Linked DNA regions of Homo sapiens: region 2 is linked to region 1. Evidence: promoter capture Hi-C in 16 types of primary human blood cells and fetal thymus (Javierre and others, 2016). All regions are on one chromosome and are shown on one strand. The core of a region is centred on a gene start or on the middle of the fragment in contact, and the rest is flanking DNA. Distances in the headings are between cores, read along the strand shown. Region 1 overlaps GULP1 (GULP PTB domain containing engulfment adaptor 1). Region 2 holds the start of WDR75 (WD repeat domain 75).

The links. Contacts are between HindIII fragments. The CHiCAGO score rates a contact against its expected background, and 5 or more counts as called.
Region 2: a contact is called between the fragment with the promoter of WDR75 here and a fragment that was not itself captured in region 1, in 3 of 17 cell types (megakaryocytes, fetal thymus and erythroblasts). The highest score is 8.6, in megakaryocytes.

The regions. Positions count from the first base shown.
Region 1 is chr2:188,523,080-188,529,964 of GRCh38, forward strand. GULP1 (GULP PTB domain containing engulfment adaptor 1) reads left to right here. Exons shown (of 12, transcript NM_016315.4): 6 at 6,018-6,116. Among named protein-coding and RNA genes, the nearest start is that of MIR561, 230 kb to the left of the region's middle. The HindIII fragment of the contact is 1,282 bases long and covers 2,548-3,829 here.
Region 2 is chr2:189,438,359-189,445,243 of GRCh38, forward strand. It overlaps WDR75 (WD repeat domain 75), which reads left to right and starts at 3,116. Exons shown (of 21, transcript NM_032168.3): 1 at 3,116-3,220. The coding sequence starts at 3,135. It also overlaps a transcript of COL5A2 not described here. RefSeq lists enhancers at 1,982-2,680, 2,452-2,611, 2,632-2,851, 3,112-3,241, 3,262-3,491 and 1 more. The HindIII fragment of the contact is 5,353 bases long and covers 25-5,377 here.

The DNA of each region.
Region 1 (6,885 bases), core at 1,939-4,438:
TATGGCAGTGTGTCTTGAATATTTGTTTTGTAGCTTGCCTTTACTTTGCTTGGATAATGTGAACCTATGTCCCAAATCAAAAGCTAGTAATGGCATAACAACTGTCTTTAAAAGCTAAGATATAATATCCACCAGTTAAAAATGTGGAGTCAGAGTTGATTCCAGCCAGAATTTTGCAGTGACACTGTATGTTAAAGATTTCCTAATCTACAGGTCCAACAGGATCTGGCAATGTCCGTAAGTAGCCATGGGGAAACTGGTGAGACTAAGAGAGGAGAGAAGGACATTTAATAAGCAACCCCACATATCCTAGTCAACAAGTTTCCTGAGAAAATCTTACATAAGATGCTACACACCATGTTTTTCTAATTGTTCCGCATCTCGAAGGACATTGTTGTCACTGAGCTTTTGAAATTTACAAAACTCCTTCAACAGAATTCTCAGCTTTATCATATAAGAAAATACACATTATCACTACTTTTTTTTTTTACACAGTTAAATGTTATTCTCTATAGTTGCTCTCGTATTTTTGGAGAAACAACCCTTCTCTAACTTTATTTGGTTTAGGGACCATCCGGTTATTCTAAAGGAGGGTTAGACCTCTGAGTGTGCCAGGCAAAGTCAGAGACATTAAATGGTATTACTTTGCTTTGAGAATATCATATCTGGTGGAATCCACTCTGTGTTTAAATTGAGAAATAATTGAATTGGCATGACTTCTATTCTGGGTAAAGAAATAAAGGTCAATAATATTTTATCCATCTTATTTTATATGAGAATATTTTACTAATCGTTTTAAGTAAATATGCTAAAATCTCCGAAGATAATATCACTCCCATTTGGGAAAAAAGTGGATTAGCCAACTATTTATTTCCACCATTCATTAGGTAATAATTCAGATTTGCCTTTTATTGGCCACTAGTTTTAATCATTCCAAAAGAGGATTTAAAAGGGCTCACAGTTTATGGACACATTAGAATAGGATTCTATTTAAATGCTTTTAAAATGTTGAGGATTCTGGGCATGAATCCAACTTCACTACAATCAGAATGTTTTATGAAAGAACAATGTTATTTACACATAGTATTTCTTTATGCCTAGGAGGTTGTTTATTCAGTCAACCCAAATCAAAAACCAAAAAAAATTCAATTGAATAATGAATAGATCAAATGTAAAGATATATTTGAAATCAAATGCTTTCTAAACAATGACGAGTTTACATATATTTTGCAGGATTTTGTATGTATTTCTATGGAGTTTCATGTTTAGAAATGTACTCTGTTAATAAAAGAATGTGACCTACAATAAGGTAAAAAATTAGGTAGTATAGTTTAAAAATGCACACTTATTTTATAGTAGCTGTTTTTTCTCAAATGTCTTCCAAAAGGGAGTGTATTTAATAAGCAATTTTACTGTGCTGATTGCAAACATTTTGTATATCAGGAAAGTATATCTAAGGGTAATGATTCATACACTAATGATAATGAATAAAACAATGCTTTTTATCTATTTTTATATATATATATTTTTTTTTTGCTTTTTTTGTGTGTCAAGGGTCAGAAGCTACAATTCAAAGTATACTAAGAATATTTTTTAAATGTCAAGCCTGGCGCTACTGGCTCGCAATGGCCAGTAGGTGGTGGTGTGGCTCTACTAAAAAAAAAGAGAAAAAAGAACCTTGCTCTTTGATCATACTTACACATCTCCATTTTAATTTCCTGCTTATTTTTCTTTAACATATGAATTCTGACTACTTTTAAAAAAATCTATATAATTCAGTATGTGAATTTATTTGCCATGTAAGGTAACATTTTATTTATATTTACTCCTTTTTCAGCAATATTAATGTAATGGCTTCTGATATTAAAAAAGAATTTAAAATTTAAGAATAAAAGCTGATGGAAAAATTAAAGAATTCTCAACAATGAATTTTTCATGCTTCTGTGTTTAATGATGCCTGCTTAGTTTTCAAAAAAATTTAAAACTGACTTTTTTACACTCTTTCTATCATTTTTTAGAGAATTTACAGTTTATAAATTTTTCCTTTATAAATATAATTATTTTTATAAGTATTAACCTTTTAAGGTTCAGATACTATATTTATCAAAACATGTTCTTTATTTCCTAATCATGTTCAGCAGTTTCTATTTCTTAATCATGTTTTAGCTGGGCTTGGTGGCACACACCTGTAATCCCAGCTACTTGGGAGGCTGAGGCAGGAGAATCACTTGAACCTGGGAAGCAGGGGTTGCAGTGAGCCGCGATCGCGCCATTGCACTCCAGCCTGGGCAACAAGAGGGAAACTTCATCTCAAAAAACAAAAAAACAAAAACAACAACAAATAAAACAAATTTTCTAAAATGTAGTAATTTTAAACCCTTTCAACTTCTATGTATTGAATAGCATTGTTATTGGAACGAATTTTATTTTTAATAGTGATTTATATATATTTTATTAATACAACTAGTACAGATGTTGGGGGCTGAATGTATTTCATACACAATTTGTGATGTTTACATGTAAGTAAGTATTGATATATAGATTAAAAGCTTATCAATTTCCCTGGGAGATACCCAGTGGGCAGCATTCCTGGAACCCAGTTTTAGACTGAAGATCCCCTCACTGCAGTACAACTAAATTAAAGTTACACGAAATTACTGCAAGAAAATGTAGCCGTTGGGAATTGCTGTCAAGTCTTGTGAAGTCTCAGCCTAGTAGATTTTCCATTTGAACTCACTCTTTCTGTGTTGTATAACACTATTTTGTCTTCACAATCAGTTACCTAATTAATAAAACATTTAGAGCTTAATTTAATTATATATAAACATCGCTCATTTCCCGCAGGATTATTAGAAATACTTTAAATTAAAAATATAAACATGAGAACCCCAGAGAAGAATAGCTTCAAATAATAGGCCCGAAGTAGTAAATTAATTTTATTGCCTAACACTCTATATTCCATTAGTAGTTTACTTAATTTCACTTTTTAAAAAGTCCTCTGAGAAATGGATAGAAATTATATAATAAGATTGAAACTCAGTTGTGCTCCCTTTAAATTTTCTTTAACAGTTCTATTTATCAGTAGTATATATTTAACCAAATACTTTATTTCAAGTACTACTCCATCCTTCCCCATCATTTTATGATGACAAAGGCTTGGTTATATTTGTTTGTTGCATCCAGTCATTCTCCAAAATGCTTATGCATCACTTCCTTTGAATACTTTTTATTGGATTATTATATTCAGGGTTTAATGGCAGATCACTGTATCCATCTAGATCTACCAAGAAATAAATCCACTGAAGCAAAAATTGAAAGAAATTTACAAAAAAAGACTCTTCAAGCATTAACATTAAAGTAGTAAATAGGGAGAAAATAGAATATAATGTTATGTAGATTGATCAACATATCTTCCTAAGATTAATTAGAAATATTAGGAAGGCAAGAGGTCTGTAAGTAGGAAAAGGGACTTAGAGGGGAGCATGCAAACTATAGAATACAGTTAGCTTAAGTTTTAGGAAAAAAAAGAAAGGCAGGAAGGAGAATATTAAACTGAATAAAATATAGATTGAATGAATATAACCTTAGGCATGAGAGTTGTGTAACATATGTTCAAAAATCAAGGCCAATAACCAGTGTAAACCTTGATATGCATGAAGGTAGAACTGGGAATTTTCTTTTCTAAATGCAGAAAATATATTGTATAAAAGAAAAAATTATTTGGTGAATATCTGCAAAACTAATTACTAGGCCTAATTCCTAAAAACCCACTTTATGACCATGGTACATAGCTTATCTGGGACTTACTGTTCTTATCTTTGAAATAAGAAGCTTAGATTGCATGAACCTGAAGCTGTTTTGAGCACAATTAATTCATCCTGTTATGAAGAAGAGAGAAAAGTTTCAGAAAACCTAGATTAGAGATGTTGTGCTTATTTTTATTTTTCTTTATCTCATTCTGTCCTTCTTCCCTCTCTTCCTTTCTTCCTCCCCACTCCCTTCTTACCTCTCCACTTTGTTTTTCTACCTCAGCCCCTACTTCCTTCCTTTCTTTAATTCTTCCATTCTTTCTTCCCTTCTCAATAGATAAGTTTAATAATAGTGGTTGTTTTGTTGTAGATGTTTCAGGGGGAAAAAATTTAAAAGGTTGCACAGTTCTTGTCAGAGGTCACAGGAATGCTTGAGTCTGGATGTGGAAGGGGCTTCAGAAGTCATGCTCAGTCTGTTCCTGGAAAACAGCAGCACCTAGGAAACCAGCTGAGAATGCTTCTGCAGCTGATAATGAGAGTTGCTTTATCCAGACGCATTCACATAGGGGGAGAGCAGCTGACTTATTTTGTAAGCCTTCCTATATGAAAACCTTCAAATTGCTTAATTATGCTGATATAAGGAGATTATGAAGGGAAAATAAACAAAATTAATTCATATTATTTGGGAGAGAGCTGGGATAATTTTTAAAGATCTACACTCAAGCAAAATAAATTTATTAAAGGCAAAAAAGAAAATTATCTGGCACGAATTAGTTGTATCGTGCAGCAGTAAGACTGCTGGATACAAAAAATAGCAACCTAAGTTCGTAGAGCAAGACAGACAGCAAGCTGAAAAATTATACCACCCAAAATGGAATAAAACAAATGGTACCCCCTGGGATAGGAAGGCAGACACTTAAAGGCATTCATATATGCATTAATTATATTATTATGTGTGGCAGTGCAAAGCCATGAAAAGAGAGAAAGACTTTTAATCACTCTGTGCTCCAGGACGGAGCTATACCATGTGTATTCACATCTGCCCTAAATTACAGTGAAATACACAGTGCAAGTAACTGTGACATACAAGAGGACTAGAACGCTGTCTTGCATTACATGTCATCAATTTTGAGTCAGGTTGGGATGATCTATATCCCTAGAGAGAAAAAGTTACTCTAGAAAATAACTTTTTGAAGCCCTAGAAGAGGGGCAAGAAATTCTTTCTTCTAATAGTTTTCTTTCCATTTCTTAAAAAGAAAAAGTTGGATGCTGGGGTGATTGCAGAGGAGAGAAGGAATGTAGGGAGAGAGTAAAATTGCCAATTAAAATCAAGATGCCCAGTAAACTTTGACAAATATTTTTTAGTACAAATATGTTCCAAATATTGCATGGGCTAACGTGTATACTAAATACTATATATATGTTGTGTTTGTGCCTATATTTTAAAATTAAAGTTTTAAAAAGAATATTAATTGTTTAATACTCAAGTTTAGCTGGGCTCCTGAAATTTTCCCCCACTAAATTAAGCAATGCTAGGAGAGAGGCAGAGACTCCATCTGCTAAGCACATGAGTATTCTGGTTTTCTTTTTGATTTTATAACAGAATCGAACAAGCATTTACATACACCTACTAACTCAATGAGAAAGTATAATAAATACTACTATGAAAGTATTGAAAAAAAAAACTGTGCTTTCAAGATACTCACTATATTTGTAGTTCTAGACTGAGTCTAGTTCTATACCTGAGTCTTTCAGCTGGGATAATTACTTCAATTCTTAGCTTCAGTTTGGAAATGGTAATCTGCTTCTTTTTATTTATTGATGTGGTTGGATAGAATAGTGTTCCAAACTAGGTAAGTATCTAAAAATGGCAAAGAGGGCATATTCAACAGCTGATGAACTGCAAATTCTCTGAAGATAATAACAACAAAAGATTCACAGAAAAACAAACTGATCTCTACATATCTTCCCACAAAGTATTTTGAGTTTTCTCAACTGTCTGGTATGAATACGTTTTTGTAAATACCATGAAAGAAGTGCATTAAAAATCTTAATTTAAAAAACTTGCTGAAAATCAATGTGAATTATAATGGCTGATTGCTATGATTTTTAAATATATTGAGACTATCTTTATAAAATGCTTTATACTTGGCAAAAATTCACTTAATTAAAGTCTGAAATTGAATATGAACTCCAAATGTATATTTATTTTTGTTCATTCTTTATAGAAATAGAAGTGTAGCTTTGTGAATAATTTTTCATTCGTAGTTTGCAAGACATATCAAGAAATCTGAAGGCCAGAAAATTCCTAAAGTGGAGTTGCAAATATCAATTTATGGAGTAAAAATTCTAGAACCCAAAACAAAGGTAAGGCTTTTTTTTTAATGTTAGAGGCAATCTTTAATTAATTGCAATTATATTCCTACTTTAACAAATATTTAAAATTTTTTGCCACCCTGAACTGTTTAGTTCTGAGTTAATGACAGTTCGAAACTCTAGGAGTTTTAGAAGTGAAAACAACTTTTGGAATTGCATTATAAGTGATCTTTTCTTCAGCTTGTTTGGGATATAATATTAATAACTTATGTTAAGTGCATTCAACAGTGTTTGGACGTGTATTTGGGAATGTTTTTTTCATGAGATGTGAAAGAGATGCATACAGTGTGGTTCACTGAGTATGAAAGAAGATAAAAGCTGTGTGTTATTAAAATATTCTGCATTGACTTTTATTTCCTGTAGATGTAATCAGTGTGTATTAGTTTTTTACGGAGGCTGAAACAAAACACCACAAACTGGGTGGCTTAAACAGCAGAAAATATTTTCTCACAGTTGTGGAGGCTGGAGTTCCAAGATCAAGATGCCAGCAGGGTTAGTTTCCTCTGTAGCCTTTCTCCTTGGCTTACAGAGGGCTGCCCTCTTGCTGCCTTTTCACACTTGTCTGGTGTCTCTTCTTATAAGGACACTCATCAAATTGGATTAGGAACCATACTCATGGCCTTATTTTAACTTAGTTACCTTTTTAAAGGCCTTATCTCCTGTTTGAAGAAAAACTAGACAAATTAAATTTAGCAGAGTTTATTTGAACAGATAATGATTCATGAATCAGGCAGCACTTGAAACCAGATGTTCAGAAAGG
Region 2 (6,885 bases), core at 1,866-4,365, 920 kb after region 1:
TGGTATTTATCCTAGAAAAATAAAAGCTTATGTTCACACATAAACCTACATATGAATGTTTAGAGAAGTATTATGCATAATTTCTAAAACCTGGGGGTAAAACACATTCAACAAATAAACTGTGAAATAGCCATACAATGGAATACCACTCAGCAATATAAAGCACTGATGCACATAACATAAATGCAATATGCTAACTGAAAGAAGCTAGACTGAAAAGGTTACATACTATATGATACCATTTATACATGGCTTTCTGGAAAAGGCAAAACTAGGGATGGAGAACATTAGTGGTTGCCAGGGGATAGGTCTTGGGGAGGGGAAGGAGAAATACTGGGGAATTCTTTGAGGTGCTGGAATTCTTCTGTATCCTATTTGTGATGGTGGATACGATAATTTGTGCATCATAGATATCAAAGAAAGCAGATTTTATTGTATGTAAATTTTTAAAATTAGCCTAATCGTTTCACTTTTTAACACAAAGGCTACACTGTCTTCAATTTCAGAGTAAAACCCAAAGCTGTTACAATGATCTAGGAGACCCTATGAACTGGCCTCTTATTACCTCTCTGACCTCACCTTTTACTATACCCCCTTGATGATTATTCTCCAGCCACACTGGCCTCTTGACTTATCTTGAACATGGAAAGGAATACTCTTTCCTCTGGCTGACTCTTTCACCAAACAGCTCCATGCTTATTCACACTCTCAACCTTTTCAGGTTATTTCAAATGTTACCTTCTCAGTAAGGCTTTCCCTGAAAACCCATAATAAAGGTGATCAAACCCTTATAATCACTTTCTTTTCTACTTTGAGTTTCCCCTTGGCACATAAATACATCAAAAGTATAATAAGTTTTTGTTTCTTCCCATGATAAGGTAAGGTCCAGTAACATACAGATTTTGTTAACTATTTTTCTCACTCCAGTATTCCCAGAGCCTGAAAGAATGTCTGGCATATACTAGGCACTTAGTAAATATTTCCTGGATGGAAGATGCCAAATAAGTGTTTCTGGAAAATCCTTTTCCTTCTGTATATAGGCTATGCTCTTTCTTGCTATTCCCTTATTTCTTCTAACTGAAAGGAACATGAACTGTGAGCATAAGGACAAAACCAATATGGTTAAGGACAATAACACAAAGAACAAAGTAGAGAAAGCACAGGTCCCTGGTGGCATGAATGATCCACTGCACTAGCCCTATTCTGCCTACCTCAGCCTTCTTGTTACATGATAAAGACAACGCACTATTAATTAAACAGCTGTAGGTGGGATTGGTTCCTTAAAAATTATGTAAAAAGAAATCAAAATACAAATGACTTATCTTTCTGGGCACTTCAGTAAATTAAAACTCTGTGTAAAATAATCCTCCTATACATTTATCAATCCAGCTAGTTTTTGTCCATATCAGGATTTCTGATTCTTTTCTGAAAAATCTAAAGTTACCATACAGTAACATACAACTAAAGTCACACTAATTTGAGTGAAAATATTTATTTTGTTTCTTGGCTCAGGCCCTAAGGAAAAGCCTGTATCAGGTTACAAAGTACCCAACAAAGTCTTTAAAAGATTTATTGTGCATACATCAAGAGACTAAACAAAAAGAGGTTAAGGCTGCAGAATCAAAAGTGATATTTTACACTCCATCCACTGTGACAAAGGGTATCACAGTCATGAAAGAGAAAGCTGGTTACAGCTTGAGATAAACCAAAATTATTAAATATCTCCCTTTCTAGTTCTGGCTCCCCAAATAATAAAGTTTTGAGCACTTTAATAAGCTAGACTCCTCAGTAAAAAGTAAATTTATCCCTGATTTTTACAGTGGTGCTGTCCCAGGATATGTCTTGACCTTTGTGAATATTGTATTTCTCCACCATAAATAAACTTATAGGTATAATCATGTGTGGCTTAATGATGGGGATATGTTCTAAGAAATGCATTTTAGGTGATTTCATCATTGTGTGAATATCACAGAGTGTACCTACACAAACCTAGATGGTACAGCCTACTACACACCTAGGCTGTACGTTATAGCTGATTGCTCCTAGGCTACAAATCTGAACAACATGTTACTGTACTCAATATTGCAGGCAATTGTAACAGAATAGTATTTGTGTATTTAAACACATAAAAGGTACAGTAAAAACACAGTATTATAATCTTACGGAATCACCATGTTATATGCATTGATTGAAAGATCCTTATGTGACATGTGACTATATTTGAGACCTTGGTAATTTTGTGGTAAATCCACAAATCAAGAAGCGAAATCAAAATAGGCAACATAATATACAGGGTCCAAGAATATGATACGTGTAAGTTTACAAAGGAAAACTGGAGATAAACTGGCAAAAATAAACATGTTGAGATTTTAGGGGTTCCTAACCCACAGATTCTATTCACTAATGGGAAAAGGTAAAACTCAGGAAACCAGAGACCAGCGCCCTGAAACCTGGCGGGACTGGCCGAATGTCAGATTAGCCCGAGCAGCTACACTGAACGCTGCGGAAGATGCACCAGAATCCCGGAGTAGGAGCCAGATTTCCAAAGGAAGAAAGCTAGGCCCTAGGACTGTGGAGATTCTGTAGTAACCTAAGCGATGTTCACAAGAACAGAAGAACGGCTAATGAGAGGAACAAAAAGCTGTACAAGGAAGAGAAAGCTACCTTTCCACCCAATAACTCAACGCTGCGACCGAGAAAACCAGGGACGCGAGAGGCTCGCGTCATCCTGCAGCGCCGACACCACAGACACTAGAAAGCGACGCCTCCGGTGGGACGACTGGAGGTCACGTGGTACACTATACGCCACCTTTCCCTTCTGGCGGAAAAAGCCATAGAGTCAGGTTGACAAGGCCTGAGAGAAATATGTCTGTATTAAATAATTGTGTATAGGTATATAATAAAAACTGATTGTCTCTAAATCTCTGTTTTGCTTTCACCTTTTCTTACAAGTGTCTTAGTTTGACATTGCCCACACAAAAGGTGCCTGCACGGAAGCGGAGTCCTACCACCGAGTCTCAGGCCTAGAAGGGCCCGGGGGTGGGTTCTGTGGGCTGGGAACAGCCTTATTACCCGGCTCAACGAAGGAAGTTCAGGGCGGGACCAGAGATTGGCCATTCCGCTACTGCGCAAAGATGGTGGAGGAGGAGAACATCCGCGTGGTTCGTTGTGGCGGCAGCGAGTTGAACTTTAGGAGAGCTGTGTTCTCTGCAGATTCTAAGTATGAGGGGCACCGCGCTTTGTCGGCTGAGGGGCGGGGCGTGAGTTTCTCGAGGGTCGGGGAGAAGGAATTGTCAGTCGCGTTCGGACTCGCCCGCCTGGCGGATATCGGCTTTGGGTAGAGCACGCGCCTGTGGGGGATCCCCAGGGTACCTGGGAGGTCCCGTTACCACTGCAGATTGGGTTGCGTCCCCCGATTCCTGGACAGTTTACCTGCAGGTAGATAAAGGCCCTGGAGCCGGTCTCCGTGTCGAGGATCTGGAAGGTGTTCGGGCGGCTGGAAAATGGTCCAGGGGTGGATGTGTATGCCACTACCTTTGCAGTACCTACTCTTTCGTACAGAATCATGTTTTGGAGTGACTAAAACCTAAAACTATTCCGCTTTTTCTACCCACTCCTCACTCCTGAAGCATAGTGCATGAAGCATAGTGCAGTCTTTTCGGAACTTTACATGAAAACAGATGTTAGATTCTTTATGAGATAAAAATACGCTAAGACTTGGTCTCTTTTCTCAGTGTAGCTGGAAACCAAACCACTCCCTGGCTTCAAAATCCACTTCTTACATTATGAAACCTTTGTAAGTTTCTTAATCTTTGCCTCAGTTGCCATCATCTGTAAAGGGGGACAATATTTAGTTCATCTCACGTGGTTATTGGGAGGATTAAATGCCTCAATATGTTAAAACTACAGACAACAATGCCCGGCACATAATGGCTCAATGTATGTAGCTGTAATCATTATTACTGTATTGTCAGGTTTTCAAATAACTTTAGGTAGGGTGGCACTTAATAAAATCAAAAAACCCTTTCTGCCTTAGAAGAGTAGAGATAGTATTTTATGAAAGTTTGTAGCCTCCACAATATTCTTTTTTTTTTTTTTTTTTTTTTTTTTGATGCAGAATCTCACTCTGTCACCCAGGCTGGAGTGCAGTGGCTCAATCTAGGCTCATTGCAACCTCCGCCTCCCTGGTTCAAGCAATTCTGGTGCCTCGGCCTCCTGAGTAGCAAGTATTATAAGCGCGGGCCACCACGCCCGCTAATTTTTGTATTTTTAGTAGAGAGAGGGTTTCGCCATGTTGGCCAGGCTGCCCTGGAACTCCTGGCCTCAAGTGATCTGCCCACCTGAACCTCCCAAAGTGCAGCGATTACAGTGAGCAACTGTGCCCGGCCCACCCCCACAATATTCTGCATATGAGTGTACGACAGGTAGTTGTTGAAGGTAATGCAAGCATGACTGAAAGAGCTTTTATAAATTGCCTTAGAAGCCAAAAAAAAATGAGTCCTGTGGCTTTGTTGACATTGATCTTATGAATCAAAGGAAGAAACAGGCTTTAAGAGGCTGTCACACTGTGACGCTTCGGACTCATATCCATGTAACCAGTACTGTTCTTATACCTTATTCATTATAATGAGGTCCATTGTGTGTTTGATTTGCTAAGCCCAACAATTCATTTTTTAAGTACTTGTCAACTATATATTATGTATAACATGCTGCAGTGACAAAAACTAAGATAATTTTAATATTGATCCTGCCTTCGAGGAGCTTACAGTCTAGTGAGGAAAAGGAATACTCAGTAACAGATTTTTCTTACTGTGGTCCTGTAGGAAGGAGCTCATAAGAAGAGATTACTTCCCAAACTAAGAAGGACGGAGAAGATTGCTGAGCAAATGACATTTGTGCTAGGCCTAGATGATATTTTAAGTGGGGAATATGGACAGAAGACATTTCAGGTGGGGAGGACAGTGTAAGCAAGAAAGACAGAAGTGATTTCTGTTGAACAGGCTGGTACAGTTAGCTAGTAAGAATGGTATATATTAAGGGAGGTAGTGGGAAATGAGGTTGGAAAGGACACGTGCAGCCAGTTGTTGGTTGTTGTTTGGACCAAAGAGAATGGTTTTTTAATTCTTTAAGGGGACGGCGGTAATCAGTTGTAATTTGATTGTGTTTCTTCAATAATGTTAACCTGAAAACTGTAAAACTCTATGATACATGTTGGTGAGTGGAGAAATGAGAGCTGGGTAGGCTGATGTACATAAAGTACAGTGATGGCATAGAAGAGGGAGTTACATAGTCAGTTTTACCTTCAGTAGTGGTTCTTGCAGCAATGGCAAGAGTTTGCCTCACCAGTAATACTGGGGGATGGAATGCCAGGCAAACAAGCTTGAAATCTGGGGGCCTTGAAAACTGGGGGGATTGAGCCTTCTATGTAAAGTCAGTGTAATTGCAGCATAGGGTATAAGAGATGGCAGGAAAAGACTCTGGAAGAATAGAGACCAGGGGTTAGAAGACCAGTGCAGGCATCCAAGCAAGAAATCACTTTTGCCCAAACTAAGGTAATATTGAACATGGAGAAAAGAGACAGGGTTTTAGAGTGATTTCACAGTCAGTGTCAATGGGGAGATAGAGTTCAGTTCGGGGTTATTAACTCTAAGGTACCTGTAAAACAACCAGGTGGATATAGCTAGTAGTAGGTAGAAATTCAGGACTGAAGTTTGGAGAACTTGGTCAAGATTTAGAGATTTTTTTTTTGTCATCTATATATAAGCTAATAATTAAAACCATTTATCTAACAAATGACAGGATTTTAATGAACTCAGCAAAGATTTGAATATTATCTACAAGGTACCACAAGGGATTGGCTGCCTTATACAAAGAGGAATAATTTTGTATTTTACCTCAAGGTGCTTATCAAGAAAGCCAAAATCATAAAAAGACAGACTTGTGGAATTTTGGCGGCTTCCTCTTGAAACTAGAACAAAAACTCTGTTCTAGGTACTTGAGTAGGTTGTTCTGAGGGGCATGTGGGTATACATGTAAGTTCCTGGTGTTCCCATATTAGATATTACTGACTCTCAGTCCAGTTCTGTTTGCATCCCATTCTGCGGCATCCCACAGTTATATGGTGCTGTGAATTATTGCACTGGGGTTGTTAGGGTAGAGAAAACTGAAACAATGAGTCATCCTTGCCTTTCACTTTCCTAAATTGCCCACAAGCTAATGTCCCAAACTCAGTATTTTTCCCTTACAGATCATTCTGAGTATTGCTGCTGTAACAATTTTCCTAAGTTGTTACTGTTATAACATTATTACTCTAACTCTTATTTCTAGTCTTGCTCTGAACTTTTTAACAGTTTTTTGTTGCCTCCTTAACTATAGCTCCTCTATATGGCTTTCAATCCCTTCTCTGATATAGCTCAACTCTTCCTACCCAACTGTTTCCTGATACTACCCATTATAGACACTTTGCTTGTCAGATAAGTACATTATCTGTGTCTTGTATATAATCATACCATTTCCTTGCTCTTGCTTATGTTGCTATTTTTTCTTCCCACCCCTTAAATCATACATCCTTCAGAGTCTAGTTTAAATCTTGGTTCCGACTTGAAACATCCCTAATTTCTTACTTCTTCACTTTCTCAACAAAGATGAATCCTATGTGACAGGTGTTGTGGTGGGTGCATTACACACCTTCCAGTCTACAAGGTTAAGGTATTATCCCTATTGAGTGAGTGCTTGCTGTGTATGCTAAGCTTGTATTTGCATGCAATGTTTCACTTAAACTCTATGAGAACGTGTTATTTACATTTTACAGTGGCTAACTGTAAGTGGAGATGTGAAGTTTAAAGAGGTTAAGTAAATTCTCCAACATCATTCAGCTAATACATA